Linked DNA regions of Homo sapiens: all the other regions are linked to region 3. The links are contacts of gene promoters, found by promoter capture Hi-C in human tissues and cell types (Jung and others, 2019). All regions are on one chromosome and are shown on one strand. The core of a region is centred on a gene start or on the middle of the fragment in contact, and the rest is flanking DNA. Distances in the headings are between cores, read along the strand shown. Region 1 has its middle 40 kb from the start of TNRC6B. Region 2 overlaps TNRC6B (trinucleotide repeat containing adaptor 6B). Region 3 holds the start of APOBEC3H (apolipoprotein B mRNA editing enzyme catalytic subunit 3H).

What was found. Contacts are between HindIII fragments. The study calls those that stand out against the background at their distance.
Region 1: a fragment that was not itself captured here is called in contact with the fragment with the promoter of APOBEC3H in region 3 in 1 of the 25 tissues and cell types used here (dorsolateral prefrontal cortex).
Region 2: a fragment that was not itself captured here is called in contact with the fragment with the promoter of APOBEC3H in region 3 in 1 of the 25 tissues and cell types used here (hippocampus).

What each region holds. Positions count from the first base shown.
Region 1 is chr22:40,136,653-40,139,481 of GRCh38, forward strand. It overlaps a transcript of TNRC6B not described here. Among named protein-coding and RNA genes, the nearest start is that of TNRC6B, 40 kb to the right of the region's middle. The HindIII fragment of the contact is 3,810 bases long and covers 1-2,829 here.
Region 2 is chr22:40,298,556-40,301,372 of GRCh38, forward strand. TNRC6B (trinucleotide repeat containing adaptor 6B) reads left to right here. Exons shown (of 23, transcript NM_001162501.2): 13 at 1,900-2,031; 14 at 2,355-2,450; 15 at 2,595-2,778. Among named protein-coding and RNA genes, the nearest start is that of ADSL, 47 kb to the right of the region's middle. The HindIII fragment of the contact is 7,080 bases long and covers 1-2,817 here.
Region 3 is chr22:39,095,900-39,098,599 of GRCh38, forward strand. APOBEC3H (apolipoprotein B mRNA editing enzyme catalytic subunit 3H) reads left to right here and starts at 1,345. Exons shown (of 5, transcript NM_181773.5): 1 at 1,345-1,444. RefSeq lists enhancers at 467-1,666, 989-1,876, 1,207-1,546, 1,877-2,700. The HindIII fragment of the contact is 18,686 bases long and covers 1-2,700 here.

The DNA of each region.
Region 1 (2,829 bases), core at 321-2,820, 1.0 Mb after region 3:
CCCACCTTAGCCTCCGAAAGTGTTGAGATTACAGGCATGAGCCACCATGCCTGGCCTGTATATTTAAATATTTATAATAAAACAATAAAAGTAAGCTCTAGGGTTTCAAATTTATAGCTATATATTTAAGTACCCACGTGTTTCTACTAATTACTGCAAATAAATATTTACTGAATCAGGAAGCTAACATTTTAGCTATTAATATAACATTATCATTATCAAAGGCAGCAAGTAAACGTAGTCTTTGTCTACAGAGAATAAAGTCATCTGTTGATTTGCTTAACATTAAAGATAGTTAAATAGGGTAACTTAGACATAAAATACACAGTAGTATTTGAATGATCTGTTTTAATTGGTTTCATTGACAAAGAACTGCAAGATCTGTTCTTAATATTAAGTGCTCATTTAGTCAAGAAAAGTGTTACACAGAAGTATTTTAGGAACTTGGTAATTTGTTTTGTTTGTGTTTTGGTAGGGGATGCAGAGAAAAAAGATTTACCCATTGTTTAATAAAGTCTTTTGCTTTCCAGAGCTTAGGATATCTCTACCTTAGGCTGGATCTGCTTTAGCAAAAGTGATAACAAGATTTCATGGATTTTGGTATTCTGAGAGCAGATTGGAAAAGCAAACATGCAGCGCAAGTGCTTTCCCCATTTGTTTACGTAGCTGGTAAGCAACATCATTTGGGTTGAACTCCAGGCCTGTCTGACTCCAGAGGCCATAGTAGTTCAATACTCCATCCTGGACAAGTTACACGGCAGAGTAATCAGCTGTTTCCTTATGTCAGATAAACTTACTGGAAAAGTCAGTTTATAGAACTATAGACTTCTATAGGTACAGAAGAATCCCTAAGAAGGGAGAGGGTGCTTTGTGCGTATTCAGAGCCACACATTTCTCCGGAGAAGAGATGGTTAGAGCATTGAGAGATGTCTGTGAGACCCTGGAGATGGAGTTAGAAGCAGAACCCCTGCAGGCAATAGGGAACTATTGAAGGATGTTAAGCAGGGGAGAAACCTGATGATCTGATGCATATTTTAGAAAGATGGACCTGCCGGGCCTGGTGGCCCACACCTATAATCCCAGCACTTTGGGAGGCCGAGGCGGGTGGATTACTTGAGGTCAGGAGTTCCAGACCAGCCTGGCCAACATGGTGAAACCGCATCTCTACTAAAAATACAAAAATTAGCCGGGCATGGTGGCAGGCGCCTGTAATCCTAGCTACTTGGGAGGCTGAGGCAGGAAAATCGCTTGAATTGGGAGGCAGAGGTTGCAGTGAGCCGAGATCACACCACCACACTCCAGCCTGGACAACAAAGCTAGACTGTATCTCAAAAAAAAAAAAAAAAAGAATGACCTGGCAGGAGTGTGGAGAAATGATTACCAACAGGCTGTAAAATGGAGACACGGAAACCAGTTAGGAGAGTTAGGAGTCCCCTCAGGAAGACTGAGGAAGGCTTTTGAAATAAGGCAGTAACAGTGGTCTGCAGAGGAGGGGACTGACAGGAGAAGCATACAGGAAGGATGGGAGGAGAGCACAAATCTGCAAAGAGTGGGTTAAATGATGCCATGTGAAATAGGAGATAGAGCAAGGTATTGGATGTAGCTGTTGTTACTGTTATCGTTATTTTTTTGAGACGGAGTCTCGCTCTGTTGCTCAGACTATTGTGTAGTGGTATGATCTCAGCTCACTGCAACCTCTGCCTCCCAGGCTCAGGAGATTCTCCTGCCTCAGCCTCTTGAGTAGCTGGGATTACAGGCACACACCACCATGCCCAGCTAGTTTTTGTATTTTTAGTAGAGACGGGGTTTCGCTATGTTGGCCAGACTGGTCTCGAATTCCTGACCTCAGGTGATCCGCCTGCCTTAGCCTCCCAAAGTGCTGGGATTACAGGCATGAGCCACCACGCCTGGCCTGTTACTGTTACTTTTAACTGGGTGTGGATTTTGAAATACTGAGGCACCTGCAGGCAGCCCAGGTAAAACTAAATTAGTAGGCATTTTAGAGCTCAGTAGAGAGAGAGGACATCAAGATACGTATTAGGAGTTCTCAGCATATAGGAATAGATGGGGCTGGGAGATGAGAAAAGGCTCAAGTATAGAACTGTAGGAAGTATTTCAGACTGTGTCCAACCTGAGCATGGATAAGAATTCACTCTCTCAAAGTACCAAAACAAACAAAACCCCAAACAGCAATTCAAAGTACTAAAAAAAAGTAAAAATAAAGGTAAATTAAGGAAAGAAAAGAATTAACTTGGATGTTCTTTCCTTTTCCTTTTCAGCAGCTTTATTAAGGTATACTTTACATCCTATAAAACTTACCCATTTATAGTATACAGCTCAATGGTTTTCAGTGTATTCACAGAGTTGTACCACCATCACTGCCATCTAATTTAAGAACATTGTCATTACTCCAAAAAGAAACTGTATCCATTAGCAGTCACTCTCTATTCCCTTTCCTCCCAGGCACAGGCAACCACTAATCTTTCCATCTCTACAGAATCACCTATTCTGAACATTCCATATAAATAGAATCATACAGTATGTTTTCCTTCTGTGTGATGTGAGACTTCTTTCAGTTAGCATCATGTTTTCAAGGCTATCCATGTTAAGCACATTATCAGTGCCTCAGTCCTTTGAATGGCTGAATAATACCCTATTGCATGGGTGTACGCATTTTTTTTTTTTTTTTTTTTGAGATGGAGTCTTGCTCTATGGCCCAGGCTGGATGGAGTGCAGTGGTGCGATCCTGGCTAACTGCAGCATCTGCCTCCTGGGTTCCAGTGATTCTCCTGCCTCACCCTCCTGAGTAGCTGGGATTACAGGCGCATG
Region 2 (2,817 bases), core at 194-2,693, 1.2 Mb after region 3:
TTAACTCATAAAATCTAATAATGACTGAAGTTAATATTGTTGTCATTCCAGTTGGAGATCAGGAAAGTAAGGGTCAGAAAGGCTAAATGAGTAACTTGCTCTGAGTCAGCTTAGAAATGGCAGAGCTGGGGCCGGGCGCGGTGGCTCACGCCTGTAATCTCAGCACTTTGGGAGGCCGAGGCGGGCGGATCATGAGGTCAGGAGATTGAGACCATCCTGGCTAACACGGTGAAACCCCGTCTCTACTAAAAATACCAAAAATTAGCCGGGCGCAGTGGCGGGCGCCTGTAGTCCCAGCTACTCGGGAGGCTGAGGCAGGAGAATGGCGTGAACCCAGGAGGTGGAGCTTGCAGTGAGCCAAGATAGCGCCACTGCACTCCAGCCTGGGTGAAAGAGCGAGACTCCGTCTCAAAAAAAAAAAAGAAATGGCAGAGCTGGGTTGGGAGCGGTGGCTCATACTTGTAATCACAACACTTTGAGAGGATGGCTTGAGCCCAGGAGTTTGAGACCAGCCGGGAGGTCAAGGCTGCAGTGAGCCATGATCACGCCACTGCATTCCAGCCTGGGTGACAGAGTGAGACCCTGTCTCAAAAAAAAAAAAACAAAAAAAAAAAAAAAACAAAACTGGGGAGGCAGGCAGAGCTGGGATTACAAACCCAGGCAGTCTGCCTCTAGAACTAAAGTCTTTTTTTTTTTTTTTTGAGATGGAATTTCACTCTTGTTGCCCATGCTGGAGTGCAATGGCACCATCTTGGCTCACCACAACCTCCGCCTCCCAGCTTGAGGCAATTCTCCTGCCTCAGCCTCCCTAGTAGCTGGGATTACAGGCATGCGCCATCACACCCAGCTAATTTTGTATTTTTAGTAGAGACGGGGTTTCTGCATGTTGGTCAGGCTGGTCTTGAACTCTTGACCTCAGGTAATCCACCCACCTCAGCCTCCTGAAGTGCTGGGATTACAGGCGTGAGCCACCACACCCAGCTCTAAAGTCTTTTTTTAACCTTTTTATTTTTTTAAAGAGATGATAGCTCGCTATGTTGCCCAGGTGTTCTCAATCTCCTAGGCACAAGCTAGTCCCCCAAACTGCTGGGATTACAGGTGTGAGCCACTGTGCCCAGCCTCTAGGACTAAATTCTTGGCCATTGTGCTACACTACTTGGCACTCACGGACACGTTCTTAAGCTTGTTCTCCATGGCCCCAACTAGTCCAGTGGGTTCAGTAGATGAGGGTGCAGGGAAACTCACTTCTTCTTACTTAAATCATCTTAGAGGAGCAAACCAAAGATAGGAGGGAATCCTCTGTCGCCAGAGCTTCCTGCAGCCTCGCCTAGCTCACTCCTGAGAACAGGGAGAAGGACCCTGCCGGGTCAGTGACCTTCCAGGCTCTTTGATGCTGGCTCTTTTTTTACACTGCCACTCTGTGGGTGTTTGCTATCAGAAGCCATGCATTGAAACTCATGTCTTCTATTTACAAGTTAATATATTTGTCTTACTTGTAGCACAGAAATACTTTCACGTAAGTATTATTTATTAGCTTTATGCAATGTAGCATGTTTTGTTTTATGGCACATTTCCAGTAATAATTTCTTGGTTGGATAAAAGCCATATTGTCATCAATTTTTTTTTCTTGAAGATGTTTTCCTGAATATAAAATTTATACTTTTTATTGTAGAAAATTGGAAAGTCTAAGAAGAAAATTTAAAAACTGTTGTAATCTCACTGCTCCAAGATAATCATTGTTAACCCTTGAGTGTATTTTTCCTGTTATATATTTTTCACAGAAAAGTTTGACAACTCTTGCTTTAGATTCATCAAGATTCTTTTCACAGAAAAACAGTTTTATTTTGATAAATTCTGAAGATTCCTTTTCTTTTCTTTCTTTTTTATTTTTTTGGCTAGGTTTCTGCCTCAATGCTCAAGCAGTTTCCCAACAGTGGCCTGAGTCCAGGTCTTTTCAATGTGGGGCCCCAGTTATCTCCTCAACAAATTGCCATGCTGAGCCAGCTTCCACAAATTCCCCAGTTTCAGTTGGTAAGTAGAAGATTTTCTTCCTGTGGCTAAAAAGGTCATTTGCTTTTTTTTTTTCTTTAGCTTTGATTTGCTTCCCACATCTTTGCCACTTTCTATGTTCAAAGGGTGCTAGTCCACACTTCTTTGCAAACTATGGAGTGTGCTTAAGGGTTGTCAGCTCAACTGGAGGAAAATGTAACCAAGAGACCGGGAATTTGGTGTTACTTCCCTCCTGGATACTTTTGATTGTGTGACCTGTACTTCAGTGCACAGACCCTTTAGGTGTCCTCAGTAAATCAATCTCAGGAAACTTTGGTTTTCTGTCTTTCCCCCTTGTTTTGTAGGCATGTCAGCTTCTCTTGCAGCAGCAGCAACAGCAGCAGTTGTTACAGAACCAGAGAAAGATTTCTCAAGCTGTACGCCAACAGCAAGAGCAGCAGGTACGTGGGTAGGCAGGGTCCCTCCAGTGCTGTGTTGGAGGAGTACATCCCGGCTTAGCCTCTGATGGCAAAGAACCGGGCACAGTCTTTTCCTGGGAAGTTCGGGGCCGTGCTTATCACGTGTCTGTCTCTCTTGGCCCTCAGCTGGCTCGAATGGTGAGTGCACTGCAGCAGCAGCAGCAGCAGCAGCAGAGGCAGCCAGGCATGAAGCACTCGCCCTCTCATCCTGTTGGGCCCAAGCCGCATCTGGACAACATGGTACCCAACGCATTGAATGTGGGGCTCCCAGACCTTCAAACCAAAGGGCCAATACCTGGATATGGTTCTGGTAAGTTGTTGGTAGAGAAAATTACCTTTTTAGAAATCT
Region 3 (2,700 bases), core at 95-2,594:
TGAGCCACAGCACCTGGCCTGGCTCTTTGGTGTTTATGATCTGAAGGGTGTTGGTTGATATGCATGAAGACGAGGACATGGGTTCCAGAATGCAAATGTGAAGTCCAGGTCCTTCATCTCTGACCTGGGAGGCCCTTTAGGAGCAGTAAGTCCCCTCCCTCGTGTCTCCTCTCCTGCTCCTTTCCATGGAGCAATGAAGAACCTCAAAGTAGCTAGCTGTGGGGGAGAAGGGACACAGGAAGTCCTGGCCAGCACTCCAGCTCTGCTGTTGATTTGCTGTGTGACGTGGGGACAGTATCTTAGCCTCTCTGTGCTTGGGACCTCCTCTGACTGTCAGGATCACTGCCCTCCCCTCCCAGTGCTATCTGGGGACTGGGCTAGATAATGGGCACTGGATCCGCTGGAGATGCAGTCCTGAGCCTGACCCCAGTGCTCATTTCACATCAGGCTCAGGGTCCTGCCAGGAGGCTGAATGCCAAAGGTCAGTGGGGTGGTGGGGAGGGGGCTGCAGCCTGCCCTGTCCACCAGGGGAGTGGCATCTGGTCTATGGTGTCAGCCCTGGTCTGGATCCCTGCTCCTTTCTGTGGCTTCTATTCCTTTCATTTATTTTAGTTTAGTTTAGTTTTTGAGACGGAGTTTTGTTCTTATTGCCCAGGCTGGAGTGCGGTTGGCCAGGTTGATTTTGAACTCCTGACTTCAGGCAATCCACCTGCCTCAGCCTCCCAAAGTGCTGGGATAACAGGCACCGTGACCAGCCATCAATTCCTTTCTTTTTTCTTTCTTTTTTATTTTTATTTATTTATTTATTTTTTGAGACAGGGTCTCGTTCTGTTGCCAGGGTGGAGTGCAGTGGTGCGACGTCGGCTCACTGCAACCTCTGCCTCCAAGGTTCAAGCAATTTCCCTGCCTCAGCCTCCCAAGCAGCTGGAACTACAGGCGCAGGCCACCAAACCTGGCTAATTTTTTGTATTTTAGCAGAGACGGGGTTTCACCATGTTGGCCAGGATGGTCTTCATCTCCTTACCTTGTAATTTGCCCACCTCAGCCTCCCAAAGTGTTCGGATTACAGGTGTGAGCCACCGCATCTGGCCTTTGTTCTTTTGTAAACTATACCTGGGGAGGGAGTTGAGTCTGGCTGTACCTGGAGAGGGAATTGGGGGTGGGAGGATGGGAGGTGAGCCACCTCCATCAGACTTCCCCTGCCAAGCCCGAGGAAATAGAGAAAGAAAGGAGCCTGAGGGATCTGAAGCACCCCAGGGCCCTCCCACTCCAGTCCCACAAAAGGAAGAGGGTGGAGCCACCCTCATCAAGCAGTGACTTTTTGTGACTTTTGGGAGAGCTGACCTTTTGTGACTTTTGGGAGAGCTGCCAAAAGTGAAACTTAGTGCCTCAGACAAGCAGGGGCAAGTCTGCTAAGGAAGCTGTGGCCAGAAGCACAGATCAGGTACTGCCGCCCACTCTGTCCACTGGGCCCTCTGCTGCCACTTCCTGCCTGGCAGCCCTTCTGTGCCTCAGCCCTGGCCTCCCGCTGCCCCAGCCCCAGCCCTGGGCTCCTTCTCCTCTGGCTCCCCTGCCATCCCCACTCCCACCCAGGCTCTTTGCCCTGCTGTGTGGTCACCCCACTGCTGCTTCTGAACGGGCCGCCTCCCCGGCCTGCACCAGCCCAAGACCCCTGCTGAGACTCTCCCCTAAGAGTCATGGCTGGGCTAGTGCTCCCCACCTTGGGAGGGTGCTCTCTCTGTGTGCTTCCTGCCATTCCTGGGCTCTGGAACTGGGAGAACTGAACTAAAGGATGATGGGAGCAATCTGGAATTTTGTTCACAGTGCTTTGATGAACTTTGTGTAAGATTACTTTGTTTCAATACAAAGTCTTAGGAGAGGGTGTGGGGAGGCAATGATCTCTGAAGCACAAGGCAAATCATCTCTTCCAAGGATGTCTCCACTGTGGGCAGAGGAGGATGCAGATGACCCTGAACACACACTCCTCCTCCATGATCAGTATTCACATTCACCGTTTATAATGACACCAGTAACACGGAATATACGGAAAAACTCAATGATCAGGAGAAATGCTTTTATTTTAAAATTTAGGAAGAAGAGAGCCTGGTTCCCAAAGGCTCCCTCCTGCAGGGCCCGTGATGCAGAGGCTGGCAGGGCTGGCCAGGAAAGTGGCCCAGCTCCATGGCCTGGGCAGGTTACCCCACCTCTCTGCACCTCTGGCCCCTCCTCTGTAAGATGAGAATGGCCCCTGCAGGCCTAGGGCAGCCTCACGTGAGCTCAGATCCTCTCAGCACTTAGAAGAGTGGCCTGGGCCTGGGGATGGAAGTGCTACCCTGATTTTTTGTTTCGTTTTGTTTTTTTGAGAAGGGGTGTCTCAGTCTGTTGCCCAGGCTGGAGCGCAATCTCGGCTCACTACAAGCTCCACCTCCTGGGTTCACGCCATTTTCCTGCCTGGCCAGGCAAAATGGCTCATGCCTGTAATCCCAACACTTTGGGAAGCTGAGAGGGGAGGATCATCACTAAAGGCCAGGAGTTCCAAACCAGCCTGGGCAACACAGGGAGACCCCCTTATCTACTAAAACTAAAAAAATAAAATAAAATAACATGAATAGGTAAAATGCCAGGAATTAATTGAACTGAAATATTAAGAGCTCTTATTTTGAAGGGGAGAATTTTATTCACTTTTCTTATTTTTAATGG